5 separate regions of the Homo sapiens genome follow, and regions 1, 2, 3 and 5 are each linked to region 4. Evidence: promoter capture Hi-C in 16 types of primary human blood cells and fetal thymus (Javierre and others, 2016). All regions are on one chromosome and are shown on one strand. The core of a region is centred on a gene start or on the middle of the fragment in contact, and the rest is flanking DNA. Distances in the headings are between cores, read along the strand shown.

Region 1 (4,993 bases), core at 2,475-4,974, 6.2 Mb before region 4:
TAGCTGGGACTACAGGCACCTGCCACCACGCCCAGCTAATTTTTCGTATTTTTAGTAGAGATGGGGTTTCACTGCGTTAGCCAGAATGGTCTTGATCTCCTCACCTCGTGATCCGCCCGCCTCAGCCTCCTAAAGTGCTGGGATTATAGGCACGAGCCACCGCGCCCGGCTGACTTGCTCTTTATATCTTAGTGGGACTTGATGCAGCCTAAGCAGGAGTTTGAAAGTGATATGGCAGGCAAAAATTAATACACTTCAAAAGATCTTATTTTCTTACGTCTTAAATTCTGGATTTTTTTTTAAACCTTTATTTTAAAGGGAATAACACCCCAACCCTTCCTCCCCCATCAAAACAGCTCAAACAGTACCCTTTGCTACTGGTCATTAGAACAAGTATCTGCTTCCAGAGGGGCTATCTCAACAGCTCTTTTACTCTATCAGCTTTGGGTAAGACTTTAATATATGTGTTTATTAAGCGTCAAAGCATATCAGCACAATCATGGTGAGTTATTTAGGTGGCCCAAAGGGTATACAGCTGCTGTTTGGGGTAATTTAAAACTTTGACTTAAAAAACAAAACAAAACAAAACAAAAAACCTTTGACTTAAGGCTACATTTTGAGAGATCAAGAGCATTTTCTTTCATACTGCAGTCCAAAGAAAGGACATTCCACCCATCTACATTCCATTGCAGTTTCAATCGGTTAGGGTAGTTTCTATTTTCCATTCAAAAACTATTGAAAAAGAATGTCAAATTTGCATTTCAACAATGGATGGCAGCGATTAACCAGGCATATTACTTGCAACAAAAGCTCAAAAAGTAAAAAAGAAATTATTTTTGTGAAAACACAAATAGCCATAGTTCTATAAAAACAACCAATCACATATTAATATCATAGAACAAGTAGTCTTCTCAAACATATTTGATGTTTATTACTGTATCACTTTGAATATTTGCGAGAGCCTATTTACTTCTAGCAGAGGTTTACATTAGCAATATAAAGTAATAAATAAATAAATAAATAAATAAATAAATAAATGAAGTCCGGGTTTTTCTTTTCAGTGTGGGAGACCCCACATAAAGCAACAATGTATCATAGCTTTGACACTGGATAAATGGGATGTTAAGAGTGCACTTCTATTCAATAACATGCAAATGGTGACATAATTCACTTTTTGAAAGCTTCCCCTTGGAACAAGGGGAAGAGTTCAGAGAAAACTAAAGGTAAAAAGTTGAACTGACAACTAGAGGTGTATCAAAACTGCAAATGACAATCGTTTTTGCTTTAACAATCTTCTGAAATAGGAATGTAAATCCTTGAGACTTCCTGAATCAGAGGTCTAACCATAAGCGTTGATTCCCCTAACAACCTAAATTTAACAAAATGAAAATTCCTCCCTACAGTTTTTCGGCTTGCTTTATCATTTTTAAATTCCTGGGAAAGACTTACATTCTCGATTATTGGTAAGAAACGCTTAGAACTAGGTTTTGACATGAAATACCAAGAAAGTAACCGCCAGTAAATTGCCCCCAATCAAACCTAACATTGCTTCTGTAGAACTACATTTGGACCCATGAAATGTAACGTGTGTGTGTGTGTGTATTTTAAAACTGGAATTTCGGATGGCTTTTTCTTTTCTAGCCCTAAAAGGCATTCTTATCATTTGTGTTGCTCACATGTCCGGACCACCTTGCCTCCTGAGTCAAACCAATGGGGGATATAGCCAGGACGATGAACGAAAAAGGCGTCGCTGCTTGGAGACACCTGTTGAGGTCAGTCGATTACAGGGCCGGCCTGCTTCTGTCCTCCAGTTAAGGATGGATTGCAACCACTCCTCGTTAGAGAAGAGCCTAGCCCAGAGGAGCTCAGGCAGTTAACTGGAAACAGCTGCAACATCTGCCCGGCCGCCTCGCCCCTGCCCGTGGAAGGGCGAGGGGACCGCATGGCAGCAACTGCACTGCACAAAAGACAACACCTATCACCGGGAGCCACCGGCCTTCCATAGACCCCACAGCTCCCGGCCCTAGGGCATCCCCCGAGGAGGCAAGGGCCGGGGGCGAGCCCAGGTGCGGCGAGGGGGAGGAGGTTTCCGCCACGCGCCAGGGAAGAAAGCCTGACTCATGTCGTGGCAGCGGCAGCAGCCGCGGCGGCGGGCTCCTGGGAACTGAAACTCGTGATGCTGTTGCTGCGGAGAAAAGCCTCATTACCCATTCCGCAGGCGGGGGACACCACCCAAGGCGCGCACACCAAGCGCCGGCGCTCCCGCCGCCTCCGCCGGCCCTTCCGCGCCGCGCCCCCTCCTCTGCCGCGTGCCCGCGCGCGCCGGCCGCGAGTGTGAAAAGAGCGGACACACCTAACCTGGGCGCGCGGCAGGCGCGCACCCTGCCCGCCCCCACCGGGCCGAATCACGCAGTCCGACCCGGATTCGCTCCTTCGGCCGGAATTCCCCACCCCCACTATCCCCTCCGGCTCCACCACTCCCGGCTTCGGCGCCTCTGCCAGCCTTCGGTAATTTCCGTCGGGAGACCTGGCGCTCGCCTAGGCCCGAAGACCCGCCGCCTCCTGCCCCGCCAGACCCGGCTTTATGTCTGCGGCGCCGAGGCGCATGCGCAGACGCCATCTTCCCTCCTCCTCCTCCGCCTGCCCCCTCCCCCCAGCCACCACCGCCTCCTCTCGCCGGCGGTCGCCCCTCCTCCTCCTGCGCTCCGCGCTGGTCCCTCCCCTCCCGATGCCGCGAGAGACTGGGGGATACGGTGGAGCCGGGGGAGCCGAAGAAGAGCACTAGTAACAACCACCACAGCCCCCTCCCCGCCCGACACCCTCCCTCGGCACCCACTCACTCCCCCGCCCCGTTTGCCGACACCGACCAACCCCACCTCGTTCCTTTGAACGGCGTCGGCTGCAGTCGCTGCACCAGCCCGTCTGGCCACCAACGCCGCGGAGAAAGGAGCCGCCGCCGCCTGCGGCCCTCTCCCGCCCGGTCGCGGGAGCAGCGGGGTGAGGAAGAGCCGGCTGCGGAGGAAGAGGATAAGAGAGGGTCGCACCCTCCGCCCTAGCGCACGTCCCGCCGCCCTCCGGAGAGGCTCGGGTGCCGGCCCCTTCCTCCCCGAGGACGTGTGCCGAGTCGAGGCGCCTGCCCTGAGGGAGGAAAATGCTCGGGCTCCATGGCTGCCAGTGATGGAGCGGTCCCTGGGCTCCCGCTGCCACCGCCGCCGCCGCGCCCCGGCCGTGCTCCGCGAGGACCCGGCGTCTCTGCGCGCCCGCCCGCGCCTCGTTGCTGGGCTCACCGTACCGGGCGCCTCGCCGCCGCCCCGCTCGCAGCCGCGTCGCCCCGGCCCCAGCCGCGGCCAGCGTTTCCTCACCGAGCAGCCGCCGCGAGCCCAGGGGGTTTGAAAGGGTCTGCGGGGCGCGGGGGGAGGGCCGAGCGGGGCCGGGAGGGGAGGTTTGAGCGACACTGAGCTCGGGGCTCGCTGGCGGCGGCGGCGGCCCCGGGGGTGGCGAGGGGAAGGCGACATTTGCTTGGCGCTGCCTCCGTGCAGAGCGGCCGGGAGGGCTTTGCAGCGGCCGCCGACGCGGCGGGAGGAGGGGGCTGAGGCGGCTTCGGAGTTGGCCGGAGAAGGTGGGCATTTCTCGCTTTTCCTCCCCTTCCTGCGCTCTCCCCCTCCCTCCTGCCCCGCACCCCACGTGAAGCAGAATATAAAGGGGGGTGTGAGGCTAGAGGGGAAAGTGAATGGCGAAGGACTGAAGGGATCCCCCCTTCGGGTCCCCGGCCGCCCTGTTCACCCTCGTTCATCCTCCTTTCCGAAGCTCGCTCTCGAAGGCAGGAGCGACCGGCGCCTTTGGCTGAGGAGGAGGAGAAGGAGGAATCGCGCCAGGCGGAGCGTCAGGTCCCGTTTTCCTCTCCGGCGTCTCCAATACAAAGATTACGGTGCAGAAGGAAATTGCACTCGTCTCCTCCGCGCCCCCGGTACCCAACACAATGCACCAGCCGCCTGAGTCCACCGCCGCGGCCGCCGCCGCTGCAGACATTAGCGCTAGGAAGATGGCGCACCCGGCAATGTTCCCTCGAAGGGGCAGCGGTAGTGGCAGCGCCTCTGCTCTCAATGCAGCAGGTACCGGCGTCGGTAGTAATGCCACATCTTCCGAGGATTTTCCGCCTCCGTCGCTGCTTCAGCCGCCGCCCCCTGCAGCATCTTCTACGTCGGGACCACAGCCTCCGCCTCCACAAAGCCTGAACCTCCTTTCGCAGGCTCAGCTGCAGGCACAGCCTCTTGCGCCAGGCGGAACTCAAATGAAAAAGAAAAGTGGCTTCCAGATAACTAGCGTTACTCCTGCTCAGATCTCCGCTAGTATCAGCTCTAACAACAGTATAGCAGAGGACACTGAGAGCTATGATGATCTGGATGAATCTCACACGGAAGATCTCTCTTCTTCGGAGATCCTTGATGTGTCACTTTCCAGGGCTACTGACTTAGGGGAGCCCGAACGCAGCTCCTCAGAAGAGACCCTAAATAACTTCCAGGAAGCCGAGACACCTGGGGCAGTCTCTCCCAACCAGCCCCACCTTCCTCAGCCTCATTTGCCTCACCTTCCACAACAGAATGTTGTGATCAATGGGAATGCTCATCCACACCACCTCCATCACCACCATCAGATTCATCATGGGCACCACCTCCAACATGGTCACCACCATCCATCTCATGTTGCTGTGGCCAGTGCATCCATTACTGGTGGGCCACCCTCAAGCCCAGTATCTAGAAAACTCTCTACAACTGGAAGCTCTGACAGTATCACACCAGTTGCACCAACTTCTGCTGTATCATCCAGTGGTTCACCTGCATCTGTAATGACTAATATGCGTGCTCCAAGTACTACAGGTGGAATAGGTATAAATTCTGTTACTGGCACTAGTACAGTAAATAATGTTAACATTACTGCTGTGGGTAGTTTTAATCCTAATGTGACAAGCAGCATGCTTGGTAATGTTAATATA
Region 2 (5,283 bases), core at 1,916-4,415, 6.6 Mb before region 4:
CTTTTGGACTTTGCAGGAGTTTTGTGAGGAATTGTGAACAATGACTCATCCAATCTAGTGTCTACATTGGTGTCGACATGGTACCTAGCACCAGGAGACTGGATGAGATCACGAAAGACGCGAGAGTAGATTGAAGAAAGATTCAAGGGCCCCTGCAAGGAGAGAAACAGTAGAATGCGAACCTGAACGGTTTAAACCGCTGCAGACTCCGCGCAGGCGCAGGAGCAGGTTTGACGCCTACGGATGAACGCGATGGAGTGGGCGGAAGCCGACCGAGAAGACTCAATTTGTCTAGGCTTGGAGTCGCTATTGCCGTCTCCCACATGGTCTAGCGGTTAGGATTCCTGGTTTTCACCCAGGCGGCCCGGGTTCGACTCCCGGTGTGGGAACGCCGAAATTTTAGACTGGCGTTCAGTCGATTTAGATTCTTCCTAACTCGGAAAAGGCATGTTTTTAACCAAAACTGTAATTCCATTTCAAAGCACGAGGGACACATCGGGGCTGAAGGGAACCAAGGAGCTACCCCTGGGGCGGGTGTGAGGTTCAAGTGTGCTCAGACCCTAGCCACCTGCGGCAGGCGGCGGAAGGGACGTATCTGGCAACAGCTTGAAGTCAGTTTTTGAAGTGAGAGATTAGGTCAGAGGTGAAGGAAAGCGGGGGAACCAAGCGGTCGCATGCCGAAATACACCCGCTGGTTTTTCTCCAGTATTTTCTCCTTGTACTGTGAAGATGAGCAAATGACCAAAAGAGTGCTCTTTTTTGAAAGAAAAAGGAAAGATGCAATTTTAGAACATTATAGGGTTTTTTTGTTGTTGTTAGGAGGATGCTGGGAGAGGGAGGGAGGCATTGCAGGGCTTTTAAGTTACCTAAAGTCATTCTAGGACAACAAGATTTCTAGAAAATACATATATTAAAGGCAGGGTAGTTCAATGTACAATTTGTTGTGTTTGTGATGCAGAGAGTTAACTAAACCAGTTTGGAAGGCGGGGAAGAAAATTAGGTTATAACAAATACTGAGGCTCCAGCCGATGGCAAAACAAAACAAAACAAAACGAAACCAAAACATTTTACTCTTGATATATTTATTTGACACATTGTTTTAAAAAAACTTTAAGAATTTGTGATATGCTAGATTAGAATTAGAAGTCTTAGTATTGACTTGTGACAGTTTCCAATTGTTATGCAAATAAATGCATCCCTTTGTTATTAGATGAGATTATCTAAAATGAAGACTATATTTAAAGACTAAAATAAAGACTATAATTTTTTTTGTTTGTTTTTTGAGACGGAGTCTAGTTATGTCGCACGGGCTGCAGTGCAGTGGCGCGATCTCGGCTCACTGCAAGCTCCGCCTCCCGGGTTCACGCCATTCTCCTGCCTCAGCCTCCCGAGTAGCTGGGACTACAGGCGCCCGCCACCACGCCCGGCTCATTTCTTGTATTTTTTAGTAGAGACGGGGTTTCACCGTGTTAGCCAGGATGGTCTCGATCTCCTGACCTCGTGATCCCCCTGCCTTGGCCTCCCAAAGTGCTGGGATTACAGGCATGATCTCGCTCTTGTCCCCCAGGCTGGAGTGCAATGGCACGATCTCGGCTCACTGCAACCTCTGCCTCCCGGATTCCGGCGAGTCTGCTGCCTCAGCCTCCCGAGTAGCTGGGGTTACAGGGGCCCACCACCATGCCCAGCTAATCTTGTATTTTTAATAGAGATGGGGTTTCCCCATGTTGGTCAGGCTGGTCTAGAACTCCTGACCTCAGGTGATCCACCCACCTCGGCTTCCCAAAGTGCTGGGATTACAGGCGTGAGCCACCGCACCGGGCCTATTTTTATTTTTTGATTATTATTTTAGATTATTTTACTCTCAGATGATATTATTATCCCTGTATCAATCGCGGCCCTGTAGGAAACTCGTGATATATTCTTAGCAGAGTGCTTAATCAAGGATTATTTAAGTTTTTCTTAGGGTTTAGGGAAACAAGAAGGGGTAATGCAGCTCTCACAGCTCCTGAGCCTAAGGGGCAAGGCCAGGGAGGATAGCTGATGCCGGGGGCTGCCAGGCAGAAGCTGTGTAGTTTTTGTTTGTTTTAAACTTGTTTTTAGGCCAGGGGCAGTGGCTCATGGCTATAATCCCAACACTTTGTGAGGCCGAGGTGGGAGTATCACTCGAGCAGGAATTGGAGACCAAGACCAGCCTGCACAGCGTAAGGAGACACCGTCTCAAAAATAAAAAAATAAAAAAAAAAAAAAAATTTGCCAGGCAGTGGTGCGTGCCTGTAGTCCTAGCTGCTCAAGAGGCTGAGGTGGGAGGATCGCTTGAGGCCAGGAGTTCGAGGCTGCAGTGAGCTATGATTGCTGCTGCACTCCATTCTGGGCTAGTGAGATCCTGTCTCCAAAAAGCAAGACAAAACTGCTTTCAGATGGCAGGTGAATTCCATTTATATGAAGGCTGTCATGTCTACTCATCCTATTAATCATTCATTTTCATAAAATAGAGTTTTGACCTCATGGATTTGACAGAAGCTTTCTTGAGATGGCTGTAATATTTGGTGGACTCAGAGCATAGTAGATATTTCTGAAGACAGGTACTTAATGATATGAAAGGGTTTCACTTTGTGGGGAGATGGTTACTTCAGTTATATTTGGCATTTTTATGGCTTTCCCTTTTTGTAAAACATTTTGCCATAACTTCCATTCATCATCCTCATAGTCTTTAGATTCATAGACTATTTGAGCTGGAAAGGCCCTTAGCAGTCGTTTAACTTAGACCCTCGTTTTACCCGGGAAACATCTATTCTGAGATTTTATTTCTCTGATTCCCTAGTATTGGACTTTAGATTGTATCCACAAAAGATTGAATTCCTGTCTGGTGCTCTAGCCAGACACCACTCTCTCCAAATCCTGGCGTCAAGGAGCGGGGCTTAGGGGGATTGAGTGCAGAGAAGATTCAATTATTTTTATTTATTTATTTATTTATTTATTTATTTATTTATTTATTTATTTTGAGATAAGGTCTCCCTCTGTCACCCAGACTGGAGTGCAGTGGCGCGATCTCAGCTCACTGCAATTTCTGACTCCTGGGTTGGAACGATTCTCGGGTCTCAGCCTCCTGACTAGCTGGGATTTTAGGTGTGCGCCACCGCACCCAGCTAAGTTTTATGTTTTTAGTAGAGATGGGATTTCACCATGTTGGCCAGGCTGATCTTGAATTCCTGACCCCAAGTGATCCGCCTGCCTCAGCCTCCCAAAGTGCTGAGATTACAGGCGTGAGCCACCGTGCCTGGCCAAAAAAATATTCTCTTGTATTTTTGGTCAGTGTTCACAGCATAGCTGCATAAACATAGTAGTAATTTTTCTACGTGAAGTTTTTTTTTAAAAAAATTCATCATATATAATCATTTCTAGAAAGTGATGAGCTTAACCTGTTTGGGGTATTTGAACTAACCATGTGTTCCTGTATGCTTTCATTTTTGCATATAGTCATAAACTCTGATGGATTCCACATGAAAATTGCTTTGTGCCCCTCAACAAGTGTATTTATAGTCATGCAGATTCATATGTATGTTCCCTCAGAGTATATCTGATGCCGCATGCAAAAATATCCTAAATAATTACATTAACACTTCATATATTAATATGAAAGCAAATATGAATTTTAACTCACCCACACTGTAAAGCTGAATAACTTGGAAAAACACTGACTACTTGGAAAATCACTGGAACAAATAATCAAAAAATCAATTTGCAAACTTCTAGAAGACCACAGGGCACTGGGTAATCATCCCACATTACTTTGTGAAAAACAAAGCTTATCAGATGAATCTAATTTCCTTTTGTCGCAGAGTGACAGCCATGGTAGATGGGGGAGCAATCAACATAATCTATCCTGATTTAAGAAAGCTTGGGATTTTGCAACTTGTTGTGTACTCATTAAGAAAATGTAGGTATGGCCGGCATGGTGGCTCATGTCTGTAATCCTAGCACTCTGGGAGGCCGAGGTGGGTGGATAGCTTGAGCTCAAGAGTTCCAGGCCAGCTTGGGCAAAAAAGCGAGACACCCTCCCAACCCCGGCACCGTCTTCTACCCCTCCCCGCCGCCCGTCTCTACAAAAAACACAAATCGCTTCCTCCTGCCCCTCGTCTCTACAAAAAACACAAAAAAATAGCTGGTGGTGCACGCCTGTAGTCCCAGCTACTCAGGAGGCTGAGATGGGAGAATGGCTTCAGCCTGGAAGGTAGAGGTTGTAGTGAGCCGAAATCGCACCACTGCACTCCAGCCTGGGAGACAGAGCCAGACTCTGTTTCAAAAAAAAAAAAAAAAAAAAAAAAAAAAGAAAGAAAGAAAGAAAGAAAATGTAGGTAAGACTATTCCTGTTTCATAGGGATACAGTCAAACTGAAGTTGGGGGCTCAGCTTTATGCAAATAGGCAACTTCAACACAGTATGTGCAAAAGTGACCTCTTTCTCCTTCCCAAGTCCTTTTCTACTTGGATTACTTATTTTTTAGTGTCATCCAAGATCTCCTTGTTTGAGTTACTTAATCTCTCTGTTCCTCAGTTTTCTAGAATCTAACGTGGGGATAAGAATGGGACCTACTTCATAGGGTTGTGAAGATTAAATGACATAATGCGCATAAAAGGCTTAGCCCAGTTTAAGGCCATCACCGTCATCATCATCACCATCATCATCATTGTCATCATTGGCATGTTTAGTCCCTCTTTCTCCTCCACTCGCACCACGTCTAATTAAAGCTTATTTTATTTTACTATTTATTTATTTTATTATTTTATTAAATCTTATTTCTACCTCTTCAGTTATGCTCACATATATTCTTATCTACTTCCCTGGCCACTCTGCTGGTTTAAATCATCTTGTTCTCTGGACTATTGCAATAGGCACCACACTGGTTTCCCTGACCCCATCTTGCCCATCTTCTCTATCTTGCATTCTCCTGGCTGTTACAGCGCAGAGCTGAACATGCTGCTTCCCTGCCCTAAACCCGAAGAGCTTTGTCTTGCTGAGTGCTCCCAATCTGCCTTTGCAGCCTAATTCCTACCTCTTCCCTCCATGTATCCTAGATTCCTGTTAATTTCACACTGTTTCCTGTATCTGGCCTTTACTCAATTTTTCTTCTACTTGAGACGCTCTTATGCCCTTTCTCTAAATATCTACATCTTATCCATCCTTTAAGGCTCAATTCGAACATCACATGGTTCCTATAGCTTCCCTTACCTCTCCTGTGGATGCTGGTTGCTTCTGATTCCCATGGCATCTTGTGTACTTCTCT
Region 3 (5,406 bases), core at 2,187-4,686, 5.5 Mb before region 4:
TTTCCCAAGCGAGCTGAAGTCCGCGTTTCCGGTCTCTGAGGGACGCCTCGCTGACCCAGCAGTGTGGTCAGGACGCTGGGTTTCCTCACCGCAGCCCAGGGCCAGTCCCTTGTCATGCTAGCTCTTGGCAGCTTTTCCCATGCAGGGCTCAAGTCAGGGGCCCCCTCGAGATGTTTTAGTGTTTTTTTGTTGTTCATTTGTTTCCAGAAACAAGCTGTTGTCTCTCCTCCAATGTCTTTGTGCTGATTCTTGCTGACCAACACTCTTCCGAGCGCCTTCACTTGTGTTGACAACACGGATGTCCTCTATGGCCTTTTAAAATATGTGCCACTAGCAGGACTTAAGTAAAAGGCGCTCATCCCTAAAATCATGATAAAGGTGCAGTTTAGCATCCCTGATCTGTCCTCCAAGAATATAACGTTCATTTATTTGAAAATAGCAGTTAGGACATGGAAGGCCAGTGTATGGTAAAGGGAAAAAATATCCGACCTTCCAAGAGTAAGAGAAATGGTGCTTCCTGGGGAACTGGTTATGATGGAAGGAGAGGTCCCTTTTATCTTCATTGTTGCTCATTTGGTAGGCGCTAAAGAACCTTTGTCTCATAATCTCAGATAGCTGGGAATTTGGAAGAGCCCTCTGGGGTAGGCATGTTCTTGTGCTTGACTAGAGACTGGGAGCACTAACCCAGAATGGAAACCCACCCTTCAATAACCCTAGCACCAGTTATGTCAAAATTCATGTTTTCTTTGGTCATTTGTTAAAGAGCCCCGAGCGGTAGATGGTACACCCAATCAGAAGGTGCACTCTGCCCTGAGTTTGTTTATGTTAAATATCATTAGATTGGTGCAAAGGTAATTGCGGTTTTTGCCATTGACAAAGACCACAATTACTTTTGCACCAGCTTAATACCTCAAGCAAAACAGAGGTCTTTTAGTTACAAAGGTTTTAAACATTTATCTCTGTTTTTACAATGGTGGGATTCGTATTCTTTCATGCAAAAGTAGTGGCAGTAAAAAAAAAATGAAAAAGAAAATATTTCAAAAGAATGAAGTTGTCAGGGAAGAGAGTTTGTTATATTGTATTTGCATACCATTTCCTTTCACCATCTGGTCCTAGTGTCATGTCCTAACACTTCCTCATCCCATTTTCACTCTATCCTACTCCAGTGGTTCTCAGTCTTGGCTGCAAATCAGAACTGCAAGTGCAACTGAAAAAAAAAATAATTAATGTAGAGACTCTATCCCAAATATACATTGAATCAGAATCTCTAGGAGTTAGGCCTGAGCATGTTTTGCTTTGCTTTTTTGTTTTGTTTTAACCTCTATGTATGAGTTAGATGCATAATTAAGTTTGAAAAAATAAAAACACCCTATTCCCAAGCCACTCAAATAAAAGCTGTTCTTTGGAGGCCACATGATTTCATTCTTTACATTTGCAGTTCCTCTACTTAGCAAAATACCCTCCTTTTTATATGCCTAACTGCTACTTTTTGTTCAAGGCTCTTCAAGCTCAAACATAATCTTCCCTGAATCCCCATCCCTCATCAAGCAAAATTAATAGCTTCTTTACATTTTGTTCATATGAAGAAGCCCTCTCATAGATGTAGTCTGGGCCCCTAGCCAAGAAATAAGTGGAAAAAATGGTTAAATATTGAATTGTACACTTTATAAGGATGTACTTTGTGGTATGTAAATTATATCTAAAAAAGGCTTTTTTTATAAGAAAAAAGGTCAGTTAAACCACAGAATCATGAAAAAATATAACAAATACCTTAAACTGTATTCTAACCTAAAACAACTGTGTGTTCATTTGCCCATCTATTGAGAAGATCCAAGACCTTTTCTTTGCATGTAGTCTACTGATTGGAATTCTGCATACTATCTCTTGCATAAACCGTACCCATAAACCATCAGCTAAGATTTCCCAAGATTTTGTTCTTTTAAGGGGAAAATAACTTAAAGGCACCTGTGAAGCAATCTGAGGGCAGATTTATACTTTGTAATTTTTTTCTTTTTTGAGATGAAGTCTCGCTCTGTCGCCAGGCTGTAGTACAGTGGTGCGATCTCGGCTCACTGCAGCCTCCACAGGGTTCAAGTGATTCTCCTGCCTTAGCCTCCCAAGTAGCTAGGATTACAGGCGTGCACCACCACGCCCGGCTAATTTTTGTATTTTTAGTAGAGACGGGGTTTCACCATGTTGGCCAGGATGGTCTCGAACTCCTGACCTCTCTTGATCTGCCTGCCTCAGCCTCCCAAAGTGCTGGGATTACAGGCATGAGCCACCGCTATATTTTATAATCTTTTACAGTTAATCTCACATACTTTTGTTGGGTCTTTCCAAAATATTAAACATAGATTTTTAAAGAAACAACAATTTCCACACTATTTCATTGGTTTATACAATATTAAGTTACGAAAGCACAATATCAAGCACAACTGGCAAAAACAGGTTTGCAAACAAACACAAGTAAGTCATAAGATTGAACTAGTCAATTGATAGGAGCAGAAATAGGCAGATTTACTAGTTAACAGTTTCCTAGCATGATATGGGAATTAGTCACTTATGACTTACAAAGGTAATAGAGTGAGTTAAGTGGTTAGAGGTTATGTGTAGATAGGCTTAGACATAAGCTGCTGCGCCTCTCCATTTTAATTGACTGTGTGTCTTTCTGCCTAGAGTGTTTTGAGGGCAGAGATAGTGCCTGGCTATTAAGGGAACTATTGAAGAACTCACCAGACATTTTTATAATGCTATGTAAATCTTCTCATGAGAACAAGTATAATTTTAAAGAACAAAACAGTTGTTTTTAAGCCATTTACACTAAGGTTTATGGATCTTTCCAGAAAAAGCCATGTAGCAGATGCAAATTTCCTTGCTAAAAGCTTCTGTTAGTTTCCTAGGGCTAGCATAACAAATTGGCACTAACTGGGTGACTAAAAACAACAAAAACTTGTTCTCTCACAGTTACGGAGGCCAGATGATGAAACTGAGGTGTTGACAGCACCTTGCACATTTTGGTGGTTCACTTACCTCTTCTGTTGTCTGGTGACTTCAGGTGTTCTTTGCCTAGGGGCTAAGTGACTTCAAGCTCCATGCCTCCATCGTCAAATGGTCTTATTCCATGTGGGTCTGAGTCTCAAGTAGCCCTCTACCTTTCTCTTATAAGGATTCTTGTGTAGAAATAAATGAAGATCAATCAAATGAGAACAAGCAAAAGCTATTTATTCAGGCCTTGTAAGGGAGGGAGCCACAATCTCCTGCATTTTAGCAAAGTTGAAGGCAGGCAGAGGAGTGGGCATGCCCTGATTAGAGGCTCTCAGCATGAGGAAGCTGCAGGCAGGCTAACTAGAAGTGGAGCATTCTATGGCTTCTTTTTGTTAGTCTCAACTTGGAAATGGGGACAAAAGTTAGGGAAGATGCCAGTTATTAATCCAGTACTGGTCATTTGGGACAATTGTTATAGTTTGTCTCCTAGGATTGTTATTAGAGATAATGATTTAACTTTCTACAAGTCTAATTTATAGACTTCCTGGACTGGTTACTGTAGATAATGGGTTAGTCTCCTGGGTTGCTTGCTGCAGGTTGTGGGTCAGAGTTCTGTTTTTACATATGGTCTGGCCATTGTCCATTTGCATATTCAGTCACCTACCCTAAATCCAGGATGATCTCATCTCAAGATCTTTAACCCAGTTAAATCTGCAAAACTCCTTTTTCAAAATAAGGTCACATTTACATGTTCTGGGAGTTAGGACGTGGATATATCTTTGGATGTGCGGGAGGGCACTATTTAACCCACTATAAAGTTCCTCTTGGTTTGGAAATCATGTTTACTTGTTTAGAGGGGGAGGAAATAAAAGACCTTGCCCCTTGCCTCTCTGAATGAGACAAGCAGGTAGGTTATAACTGGATTTCACCAAAGGTCTATATAACTTCTGTCCCAGAGGTAGAAATCTTTTCGAAACAGTTGCCTGGACATCCTTTAAAGCTTGGATTTGAGCTGCAGACCAACCCCTTAATGTCTACACTCCAAAACAAGAGATGTTTTGGTAGTCCAGTACTGTCTATACATTCAGCAAAGCCCCTCCTTTGGTAGAAACCTAGAAGCAGTGTGGATAATGTATGAATGTTGCCTATTATTATCTTGGATAAGGAGGTAAGGAACAGTACAAACCCTCTGTTTTCTTTCTTTTTCAGTGCCCTGAAACTCTAATCTCATTGCCTGGCCAGAAAAGGAAGTAATCCCTAGTGTCAGCAGATTCAGCGGTACTGGTGTATAATAGGTATACAGTTTATTTTTAATTATTCAATTAATTCTTTTTGGATGTCTCTGATGATGTTCTAACTTCTCTTAAAAACATGTTTGAAAAGAGTTGTCTCTAAAGCCTGTTTCCTTAATTTATGCAATTCTAATGAATTATCGGTAGATGGCAGTAGTTTGTTTTCATTTTTCTTTTCATTGCACAACAGAAGTCTGGGGAAAAAAAACTAAAACTTTTCCAATTTTACAGCATGAATTTTATGAATATTTGGTTTAAATAAATATTATCCAAGAGTTCTTCAATTTATGTTGCTATAGAAATAGAGATCAAGAAGTACTAGTTACTTTATTTTTATTGTATAAATCCAATTTTCTTTATTCTTTAGGTTACTTTATCAAATACTTTAAGGAATACAAAAATAAATAAAACACTGTATTTGTCTTCCCGGTGCTTACACTCTAATGGGGAAAGATACTATAAAATAATGAAAATAATAAAAATAAAAATATGTTGATTATTCATTGTGTGACAGGAATTTGCTAAATGCTTTACATGCATTATTTCATTTAGTCTTCACAATAACCCTAATGAAGCAGGCACTAATATTGTTCCCATTTTATAAGTAAGGAATCTGTGGCCCAGGTTGGAAATAATTTTCCTAATAAGCTAATAAGTAGTGCAATCTAGATTTAAAACTAGCTCTGTCTTACTCTAGACCTATACCTTTATCTAAAATGGTATAATAGAAATACTGAAACAATTCTTCTAAAAAGAGAAAGACCATATCTTCCCAGAAAGATCGAGAAAGACCTCCTAAAGAAAATGCCATCTAAATGGAATTGAAAGATTGGCTGTGATGTTGACGTGATCAGAATAGTGCTTTTGGAGCATTATTCTGTTAGAAAAGGGCAAACTGGAGTGGAGATAGACTATAATTAGACACCTGTTATATGCCAGGCACTTCTAGACATCTGCCATCATGGAGCTTACATTAGTAGAAGGATATGGAAAAGACGTGTATGAGATGTCGGTGGTAATAGATGCTGTCAAGAAAAATGAGGCAGGGCAAGGGTGAAAGAGAGTTATCAGGGAAGGCTTCTCTACTAAGATAGTATTTGGAATTGGTAAGGAGTGATTGGATTCCAGT
Region 4 (5,415 bases), core at 2,277-4,776:
GTGAAAACAGAAAACAATCTTTCAAAGCAGAGGAGACTTACAAGCTAACATTTCTCACTGAAACTTCTCTATTTGTCCACCATATTATTGTATTGTTCTTAAGTGTCTCAATACCAGCTACCATTATTCTCATGTATATGCCCAGGCTCCTCACTCAGTCTACAGATCTCTGACTATAAGAATCATTATAACAGGAACAGCATATGGTACCAGTTTTCAGTAATAGAAATGTGAATAGATTTCTTGGCTGCCCTCATTCCACAACTCCAAAATACTATTAAAGGATGAAAATGGGTATCATTTTTACCCTTTCTTTACTAATGTTTTTGGGGGGTGGAAAAAAATAAAAACATATAAAGGATAGCCATTTGTTTAAAAACTAACGAACTGGCAATGTCATAGTTTACAAACTAGGCAACAGTATTTTACAAAGTATTTTTGCAGTGTATATGTAGTTAAGAATCTGAGATTCATTTTCCTAAAACTCTGCATCAATTGGAGAACTTCTAAACCCTTGGAGTTCAATTCACTTTTAAATCGGAGACTTGGAAATGTCCTTACAATATACCTAGATGTCATACTGATGCTCATTAAAATAAGTTTCTATCTGTATATTAAGTTGGTGAGTGTCCACAGACAAGCCAATAAAAACAAATCAAAAATGAAAACATCTTTTAATGCAAGTTCTAACTGGCAGAAAATTAGAAAAAATGAGAGTTACAGTGACTCCACAGATCTTATCTAGATTTAAAGTTGTATTTGCCAGTCATTTCATAAAATCGGTACTTAAATTATCCCAGTGTTTTGAATAAATTTACATTAATGAGAATTTTTGAAGTAAATTACTGGCATCATTTGTTTTTTAAATAAATATATAAACAAAATAATAACATAAATTGGTAAGAATTATTATAAAGACTAAGTCCACAGGTAACTCAAGAAGGGCGAGATTAACTCTGTGGACAATTAGAAAAATCTTTGGCCAGAAGGGGTGGCTCACGCCTATAATCCCAGAACTTTGGGAGGCCGAGGTGGGCAGATCACGAGGTCAGGAGATGGAAACCATCCTGGCTAACACAGTGACACCCCGTCTCTACTAAAAATACAAAAAATTAGCTGGGCAAGGTGGCACACACCTGTGGTCCCAGCTATTTGGGAGGCTGAGGAAGGAGAAGAACTGGGAAGGCGGGCGTTGCAGTGAGCCAAGATCGTGCCACTGCACTCCAACCTGGGCAACAGAGCGAGACTTTGTTTCACAAAAAAAAAAAAAAAAAGAAAGAAAGAAAAAAAAACAAACTTCATAGAGGTGAGATTTTTATTACTATAAAATATGTTGTGATCATGAGACTGCATTCTAAGCACAGAAAAGAACATGTGTAAAGGAAGCAAAGATTAAAAGGGCAAGCTTGTCAAGTACCCAAGTACTAGTTACCATGTACTTTGAAAAGAAAATATAGCACAGATACCCTTGTACACACATTTACACGTTATGTGAATTTTCCACACACACATCCTTATACACATACACACACAACTACACACGCACACATACATACTAAACAACAGTTGTACCTACTAAATTCATTCAGTCACCACATATTAACTGAACTGGTACAATGTTCCAGGCTCTTAATGTTATTGTCCTACTCTATCATTTTCTTCCTTCCTTCTCACGCTCTCTTTCGAGTACATTTGCATATTGATGAGAATAATCCAGTAGAAAGGGAAAAACCAATCATGAGGAGAGAGGGGGCACTGGACTCCATCTACTTTAACCTTGACAAGACTGAAATAGATGGGAACTATAGCTCAAGTGGTTTTTCATAGGAGTGAAGTCATTTTTTCCATTCTAACAGGATGGGAAATTAACGGATTTATCCATGTAGTGGTAGGTTTACATTGGTGTAAAGATGATAGAATTTCCCTCTGATGGCTTGATAGCAAGGGAGACAGCAGCTGTGGAAAGTTTGAAATTTTTAAACAATCTTTTCTGAGAATAAGGAGGAAAATGAGCAAACTTGAAGAATGTATTAAGTACTAGGTACTATTAATTGTAGTCATGAATTTAATGTAAACCCTCCAGTCTGTTATTTTCTCCAGGGGCAGTCAGCTATGTACAGATAATACAAACAGCTGGTTTCAGAGTTGGTGTTTCACTAACCAAAATATGCTGAGAGGAGAGACAGGGCCACCAGAGTTGAGGGTGTTTGCATGAGAATGATTTAAAGGTGGACCAATGGACTCTTAACTATATAAGGAGTAAGGTAAGGAATAGAAGTGGGGATAGCTACAGATAAAAAATCACTGTGATTAATGGATTAAATGAAACGTTGTAGATGAGAAATTATAGTAAATCATGTAGGAGAGAATGTATTTATCCATAAGAGTGCCTGTAAACGACATCTCAGAGATGGAGCAATTATTGGAATCTTAAGGTTCTAGGCTGCAACCATGAACACCTGAGATAAAGTGTAACAGGGATATTTTGGAGATGAAAAGATCAAGGGAGGAAAAGGCTGAGAGGTTGTACGGATCATGGATTGGTAAATCATTGAAATTTATCAGTCAGCTAGGTAGGCCAAGGTACTAATTAATTATGCAAAAAATTCTATTGTAATCCTGTTCTTTGCTACATTTCATGCTACTTCCAACTGCAATAACCTCAAGAGTGTTTACTTAAAATCTATCACTCAACTGCGAAGGATAAGTAAAGGCCCCACATGGATAAACTATCCCCTATCTGCATTTCCCATTCCTACCAAATACTCTATTAAATCCCAGCATAGGAAGGGTGTGATCTGAGTCTCATTACTTTGTGATGCCCGACTGCTGAGTTACTCATACACAACGAAACTCAGAAGCCGCGGAATAACAAATGTTCAAGTAATTTCAAAGTCTTGACTATCAAGATGGAATGTCTTCCTTAACTTCCTCAACCAGCTGGCCAAAGCGGTGAAACGCTTTTCTAATATCCAGCAGATGGGGACTGTTTAAGAATCCCAACAAATTACCAGAACCTGGTCCACCTGTCCTCCCGCGCCACCTGCCCACCAAATGAATTCCGAGGGGAGGTCACTAATCAGAAACACACCCACACCCTCGTGACGGGGCCAAGCTGCCAAGCTGACACTTAGCGAGCAAGTACGGACCTCTCCTCGCAGGCTCCGGTGGGAAAGGCTCCTGGAAGGGCGCGAGCCAGGAAAGTAGATGAAGTGAAGAGATGAAGACTGCGTGGGGTAGTTGTTGGAAAAGCTCGGATCATCCCCAACCCAGCCCCGTCTTGTCCGGCCCCAAAAGGCCCATCTCGGCCGAGCTACTCACACTTTGTACGGCAGCCGTGGGTCCGACGTCAGCGTGATCTTAAAGGAAACCTTCGACCTGAGGAAAAGAGCGGGAGAGAGTCAGGGTCGGGCAGCTGGACCAGGAATTATGGCAGTCGGTAAGCAAACACTTACATGGTGGTGCCGGAATGAATCCAGAACACACGACAACTCCGCGGGGGTAGCACGACTTCCTCTAGTGTGCTGGGGACCGCCCCGCTCCACTCACGTCCACGTCTCCCTCTGCAATCTGGGGACCTCCGAAGTTGTTGCTATCCAACGCACTGCCTGAAAATTGGCCCTAAGAGCTCATGCTAGATGGCGCTTTTAAATTACAAATATCTTGTGCTTTTGCGTTTATATATCTAAGAAAAAAGTATGGATTATATTTATAAGATATCTTTCTAACTTTGGTAATTTGCTACCATATTTTTAGTCAGGCAGAATAAGCGTGGGCATAGAGCGTAGGACCCTAGGTTCCAGTTGGCAGGTTGGGGCGGAAGTAAGGGTATGGGGTAGTCGGATGAAGAGCGAGATGGACTTGGGGCGAAGCTCGGGGCGAGGCCGGGGGCGGGGCTGGGGCGGACGCGCTCTAAAGTTTCTAAGGCAACCTGAGCGCGGAAAAGCTTAATTGGTGCTCCAGAAGCAGGAATTGTAACACTGCTTTATCATTAGTTTTCTTCCGTCTTTCCAGCAAACCAATCCTGTTATATCCTTTACATTTCTCATAGTTTCTCCTTCACGCTTTACTTTCCGATACTGATTTATAACTATTGAATTTCGGTTAAGTAAGAGAGCTATCAAGTACGAATTATCTATGCCAAGACTCCCGCTGGGGTGGGTGAGAAAAAATGAGGTTTCTACGTTTGGGGAACGTGGCGTCTAGTTGGGAAGACACATCTATGAACAGGAGATTTCAGTAATTTGTTATATGGTCTAATTAAACCAGTGCGCTGAGTTGCTAATCACTGACCACATTTATTCAATTTAACAACCAACTTTGAACCCTTTCTATTTGCCCGGCGCTAAGCTAAACTCTGGGGAATCCAAGATGAGTAAGGCAGGTAGGCGTCAACTCTCTAGGATCTAACATCCTGTGTAGTGATGACGGAAGAAAATTGTCCTCTAAACTTTATTACAGATCTAAACCTCTGTGTTTGGAAAATATGCGTCTGTCTCACAATGACTGAAATGCCCTTTTAAAACATTAGCATGAATAGACAAAGGAGGAAGCAGGTAGGCATTAAAATAATGGGGCAATCTAGTTGATCTTTAGAATATGCATCAGATTCTTAAGGAGAGATACTTAAGAGAGGAACCAGGAAGGAACTGTAGTAGGGATAATGGAGATCAAATTCATCTTTACAATAATTTTGCAGCCAACTGATCTTCTATGGTGACATTTCCCAGTGGAGAGAGTTCTGGTTCTGAGTAGGCAAGTAAGACTCCAACATTCTCATGACAGCCATCCTCACTTTTTAAAATAATGGTCTTACCATATATGTAGATGAAGCCAAATATTGATTGACAGATACAGGGATCAACAGTTACAGCCTTAATAGCTGAAACTATTCAATTAGTGGGTGTGACTAAAACTTGTGAGAATAGTAATAAGGATAAAACTGTGATTGTGTCTACCTATTGTCAGCTAGCCAAATAATAATGAAAGAGATGAGTGTACATATTTACAGTCTATAAGACTACATATAATATATTTTGAAACAAAATTTGCATCCTGCTATTTATAGTTTGGTTTCTGCTCATGAATCAAAACGTGGCAAAATCCTAAAGAGAAAAATGGATATTAATCAGAGAGCTTTTATTGTATGTATAAAAAGTGGTGAAAACAGAATTCAGTCCCACAGTGTGACTTTAGTACTCAGATTCTGCTGCTTCAGAAAATACATTTGTATAATATATCAAAATAACATCTCTTGAGATATTAAAAAGCAGCTGTTTCTAAATATTTAGAATTCTTTTTCACCTCAGTCCCCAACTCTGCTTCTCATGTTTGTCTCCTCAGAGTCACAGCATGATTTCTGCAGCCTCCTGAGTTTTATTTTGCTTAGGACAAGAAAGAAATTATAAATGGATT
Region 5 (4,970 bases), core at 1,817-4,316, 5.9 Mb before region 4:
GGCCAGCCAGAGCGGGATCAGGTGAGGGGGTTTCAAGCCAGGAAGATCAGTTGCCCTGGGGAGGGCTTATTGAGGAGGGAGTTGGGTCTTCTTCTGACCTTCGCCTTCCTGGGAATTCTTCCCTCCATCTATGACTTACAGAGGACAACCCGTTGTGAAAGTATCTATCTCTGTGTTTTAAATACTGGCATTGTCCTGGGGTGAGTTTTTCTTTCCTTTGGCACAAACGTTGATTAAACTGGTTAAAGAGATAGGGGAATGCTCTCAGGGGTGATGGCTGGTCTAACAGCATGTTTCTCAAACTGGGATCCACAGAATCTCGATGCAAATTTTATAATCTTATTTTAGCTTAACCTTATAAATATGACTTAAAATTATATATTTAATGCAATAATTGAAGCAACGGGGTGACCAAGTTATCGCTAGTATGCAGGTACAATTTCAGTGCTCACATGTATGGTTGTATTCCCTCCAATGAAGGGCAAGTGACATCTTGAAGCTTGGCATGAATGGAGGGAGGTGTAGCACCAAATTAAACTGAGGAAAGTGGTGGGAGAATTGAGTCATCCCACAGCACGGGGTAGCATAGGCATGCCACACTCAAAAATGCCAACATCTTAACAATGTCAGCATGGTATGTGTGTTGCAAATTAGTTTCAACAAAATAACATTACTGGTGTTATTAGCTTAATGTGGTTGATTTGAATTTTATTGACCTTTGAAGGTTTGTTTTTCATTTAATTTGTGAGTTTGTGTTACTTTTCAAGTTATATCAGAGCTGTCAGCATGAAGAGTTTATACCCAGATTTATGTTGGTATATTTTTAAGTAGCAGTATAGTAAGGTTAATTCACATTAACACTGAAGGTCAGGGATGCCTTTTTTCTCTTTATAGCTCCCACAGCTTTCAGTGTGAGAAGCCCTAACCATCACAGGGGGGTCAACAGGCTCTATCTATATTTGATCTGACCTGGAGGAGATCTTTACTTTTGGACTTTACAAGGCCCAAAAAAATGACTTATTGCAAATGACAGGAACTACATTCAGGAATTCTACCCATTGTCTTCAACATAAATTCATAAAAATATGCAAAAATAAATAATAGCTCCTGTTCCTGTTCATGGAGAAACTGGCACTCCTCAACTTCTTAGCCTCTTCTCCCAGGCTTGGTGGATCATCTTCTGTGCTTCATACTCTCCTTGTCCCTTCTGGTCAGAGCTAGGGTTGACAGACTCTTTCATGCAGGATGCTTGTTTTGTGTACAGAAACTTCTAGACTTGACATCAGGAAATGCTCATATTTAACTTCAAACACAATTCTGATCAGTAGTTTCTACGGAGTTTGGCATCCCTAGAAAACATGCTGCAAACTGCTGTCTTCCTATTTTGCTCATGACCCCAAGGCTTGCTCTGCACATCTGCTGTTTGTCTCTCTGTAACATATATACTCTGCCTTTCGTGTTGCATTCTCTGTTGAGATTTGGATCCTGCCCAAGCAGCACGAGGGGCCTTTGGAGCTCTCTGGGCAGGAAGTCACATCCTGTGCAGGAGCCAAGTTGAAATGGCTTCCGATTTGGGGCAGAAACTTGGGTACACAGACATTTTGTGAAACCATTGATGTTTCTACTTGCAAATATTTCTGCAAACAGGAACAATTTCTGTTAACTTTCCATGACCTGTGTCACAGAGGCATGATGCCTGTCTGCTATTTGTTCATTTGGCAAATATTTACTAGATATCTTTTATACGACAGCCACAGTTCCAAGTTTTTTCAACACCAAGATGAATAAAATACAGCATTTGTCCTTCATGAGCCTGTGGTATTGTTGGGGATGATATGCATCTAAATAGGCCTAAGTGCATTGTGACAGATGTTCTACCTTCTCATATGGTGACATACTGTACAGTAAAGCCTTCTGCAGGTGACGAGGAGGAGCCCCCTAACTATCTGAGGAGGTAGGGATAGACATCCTGAAGGGTGTGACATTTAAACTGGGTCTTGAAAGTTGAGTGAGAATTCTCTTGGTAGGAAATGGGGTAGGGTAGGCATTCAAGGTAGAGAGAAGAGTTTGTGTAAAAGCTCAGAGGAATGGAACTGCATAGAGTTTGGGTGGAAATACAAATTGTTTGAGATGCCTGGAACAAAGGTTTTGGTGCGTGTATGTGTATGTTATGGGAGGGGGAGGGTGGTGGAATCTCACACTAGAGGGAAGGAGGCTGAAGATCCTGAAGAGGCTCAGAGACTTCAGGCCATGCAGACACAACTGTATACCACTCCTTCTATCTTTGGGCTATGGTGCTTTGCTTCCCCATTTCCTTTCCCCTCCCCTCCCCTCCTCTCCCCTTCTTTCCTCTTCCCTCCCTTCCCTTTCCCTTCCCTCCCCTTCACTTCCCTCCCCTTCCCTCCCCTTCACTTCCTTCCCCTTTCCTCCCCTTCCCTCCCTTCCCCTCCCTTCCCCTCCCTTCCCTTCCCCTCCCTTCCCTTCCCCTCCCTTTCCCCTCCTCTCCCCTTCACTTCCTTCCCCTTTCCTCCCTTTCCTCCCTTTCCATCCCTTCCCCTCCCTTCCCTTCCCCTCCCTTTCCCCTCCTCTCCCCTTCCCTTCCGTTACCCTCCCTTCCCCTCCCTCCCCTTTCCCTCCTCTCGCCTCTCCTCCTCTTCCCTTCCTTTTCCTTCCCCTTCCCTACCCCTTCTTCCCTTCCCTTCCTTCTCTCTTTCTTCCTTTCCCTCCCTCTTTCCCTTCCCCTTCTTTCCTTCCCTTCCATCTCTCTTTCTTCCTTTCCCTCCGTCTTTTCCTTTCTTTCTTCCTTCCTTTGTTCAGCATTATAATTCACATACCATACATTTTACCCATTTAAAGTGTACAATTTGATGGATTTATATTCACAAAGTTGGGCAACCATCATCATAATAAATTTTATTATATTTTTATCACTTCCAGAAGAAACCTTGTACCCTTTAGCTATTATCCCTCAACCTCCTATCCTTCCAGCCCTAAACAACCAAATTTTTTTTTGTCTCTGTGGATTTACCTATTCTGGACATTTCTTAGAGATGGAATTGGGACTTACAGTTTCTGGTTAGGCATGTAAGGAGTTTGGAAGTCACCACTCCATCCTAAGGAATAAAAAGCTGAACAAACGGAAACATCCACAACTCTTTAGATCCATCAGAGAATTGAGATCACAGGGCAAACTGCTGTCCTCTAAATTGTAGAGGCAGACAGGTAGACACGGAGAATCACAACTTACAGAAGCTGAAACCAGGAGAAGAACCCTCCACAGGGAACAGCGCTGAAGTAGTTAAAACTGGAACTATAACCAACAAATTGCTGGCGGCTCAGTATGGACAAGTCTCAGAGTGAAAAACTCCAGGACGACTGGGTCATAGGGGTTCTGCATACTTCTGTGAGTTTTAACTTCTGGGGCTCAACCAGGTTCTCACAGTGACTATCAGAGAAAAATCTTCTCATTCATTCAGCAGGAGATTGGGAAAAGGAACCATTTTAAAATACAACAGAACATTCTGTTCTTAACAAGGTCTGCACTCAGGAGAAACTGTTTTACCAGAGCATAAACTATTGGGGTTTATCAGACCCTAACTGACTTAGAGGATGGGAAACACCCAACTCCAGCCCACTGTAGCCATCTTGTCCCGCCTAAAGGGGGCTGGGCTGAGAACACCTGTGAAGTTCACAGTTCGCAGGCAGAGGCTCACTAAATTAAGACCTAATTATAGGACTACAGATTACTTCCCCTCCCCACACCTCGCCACCACATTATTAAAGGCCTGTTTACAGCAGTTCCTTTTACCCAGTATATCATACCCAGCTATCAAGAAAATTAAGTTAAAAAAAAAATATTACCAGGCATACTAAAACTGAAAAAAACACAGTTTGAAGAGCCAGAGCAAGCCTCAGAACCAGACTCACATGTGGCAGAGATGTTGGAATTATTAGATCAGGAATTTAAAACAAATATGATTAATATTTGACTCTACTGGATAAGTAGACAGAGAGCAAGAACAGATAAGGCAATGTAACCCAGGAGATGGGAATTCCAAGAAACAAGAGAAAATGCTTCAAAAACACTTCAACAGAAATAACAAATGTCTTTGATGGGCTCATTGGTAGACTAGATAAGGCTGAGGAAAGAATTGCTTGAGGATATCTCAACAGAAACTTCCAAACTGGAAAGAAAAAGATGGAAAAAATTAGACCAGAAAATCCAAGAACTGAGGGACAGCTATAAATATGTAACATGTAGATGGAATCATACAGTATGTGGCCCTTTTTAAATGGTTTCTTCCACTTAGCAAGTTTTTTTTTTTTTTTTTTTGCAGCTGCAGAGTCAACAGCAGTCCTATTTCCCCTAAATTTGCAAAGGGATAGTGAGCTCATGGGAGAGAAAAAGAAAACAGGAAAACAGTGATGGGGTATTTGGGGACTGAAAATGCAAAACTAAATAGATGCAAAGTTCATTTTAAGACATTTTCTTCCTGGGACCATGGCTTACTCCCCAGGTGTAAATATTTCTCTTATCAAAAGACTTCCTTTTGTTTTGGGCAATGGGTAATTTATCTGGAGTCCTTTGGCCTCTAGATTATGTCTTAGTATACCGGTTGGTAGAGAGTCCCTCTCTTTCCCGCTGTTGTGTTGACATGGCCTCCATTAAACACCACAGAATTTAGGATTTGTGCTGCTTGCTTCTTTATGAGGCTGGTGCCTGATAGTGGGGCCACACAAAACTGCTTCCCCTCCAGAACAAACTTGATGAGCTGATAAGTGATATAGCCATGCCCGGTACTGTTTTCATAAGTGGGTTAAATTCACATTTGCAAATTCAGTAGAGCAGCCCTTGTCCATCTCACTGTGTCGCTGTGCAGAGGAGCTGAGTTCTGAAAAGCTCTGGTTTCCTTCTCTGTAAGCCTTGCTGGCACATTTTCAAAGACCACATCAGTCAGTGTGAGTGGTCC

What was found. The method cuts DNA at HindIII sites, captures the fragments that hold promoters and counts their contacts. A CHiCAGO score of 5 or more calls a contact.
Region 1: a contact is called between the fragment with the promoter of TSC22D1 here and the fragment with the promoter of UFM1 in region 4, in 5 of 17 cell types (naive CD8 T cells, total CD4 T cells, naive CD4 T cells and 2 more). The highest score is 8.7, in naive CD8 T cells.
Region 2: a fragment that was not itself captured here is called in contact with the fragment with the promoter of UFM1 in region 4 in 2 of 17 cell types (total CD4 T cells and total B cells); the score reaches 9.1 in total CD4 T cells.
Region 3: a contact is called between a fragment that was not itself captured here and the fragment with the promoter of UFM1 in region 4, in 2 of 17 cell types (naive CD8 T cells and non-activated CD4 T cells). The highest score is 5.3, in naive CD8 T cells.
Region 5: a fragment that was not itself captured here is called in contact with the fragment with the promoter of UFM1 in region 4 in 1 of 17 cell types (total CD4 T cells); the score reaches 8.8 in total CD4 T cells.

Annotation. Positions count from the first base shown.
Region 1 is chr13:44,575,061-44,580,053 of GRCh38, reverse strand. It overlaps TSC22D1 (TSC22 domain family member 1), which reads left to right and starts at 3,724. Exons shown (of 3, transcript NM_183422.4): 1 at 3,724-4,993. The coding sequence starts at 3,980. TSC22D1-AS1 (TSC22D1 antisense RNA 1) reads right to left here and starts at 4,158. Exons shown (of 3, transcript NR_038381.1): 1 at 3,784-4,158; 2 at 2,877-3,012; 3 at 1-1,952. RefSeq lists silencers at 2,032-2,081, 2,262-2,461, 2,732-2,971, 2,982-3,691 and an enhancer at 4,012-4,251. The HindIII fragment of the contact is 6,017 bases long and covers 1,184-4,993 here.
Region 2 is chr13:44,913,033-44,918,315 of GRCh38, reverse strand. All of the region lies in intron 1 of LOC107984619 (a long non-coding RNA gene), which reads left to right. It overlaps TRE-TTC2-1 (tRNA-Glu (anticodon TTC) 2-1), which reads left to right and starts at 318; the gene lies at 318-389. The HindIII fragment of the contact is 1,285 bases long and covers 2,523-3,807 here.
Region 3 is chr13:43,873,716-43,879,121 of GRCh38, reverse strand. CCDC122 (coiled-coil domain containing 122) reads left to right here. Exons shown (of 7, transcript NM_144974.5): 2 at 4,195-4,280. Among named protein-coding and RNA genes, the nearest start is that of CCDC122, 3.3 kb to the left of the region's middle. The HindIII fragment of the contact is 1,103 bases long and covers 2,885-3,987 here.
Region 4 is chr13:38,347,962-38,353,376 of GRCh38, reverse strand. It overlaps UFM1 (ubiquitin fold modifier 1), which reads right to left and starts at 3,526. Exons shown (of 6, transcript NM_016617.4): 1 at 3,456-3,526; 2 at 3,322-3,378. The coding sequence starts at 3,457. RefSeq lists silencers at 2,975-3,189, 3,887-3,996 and an enhancer at 3,567-3,776. The HindIII fragment of the contact is 2,541 bases long and covers 1,408-3,948 here.
Region 5 is chr13:44,274,955-44,279,924 of GRCh38, reverse strand. No RefSeq gene overlaps it. Among named protein-coding and RNA genes, the nearest start is that of MIR8079, 81 kb to the right of the region's middle. The HindIII fragment of the contact is 5,130 bases long and covers 502-4,970 here.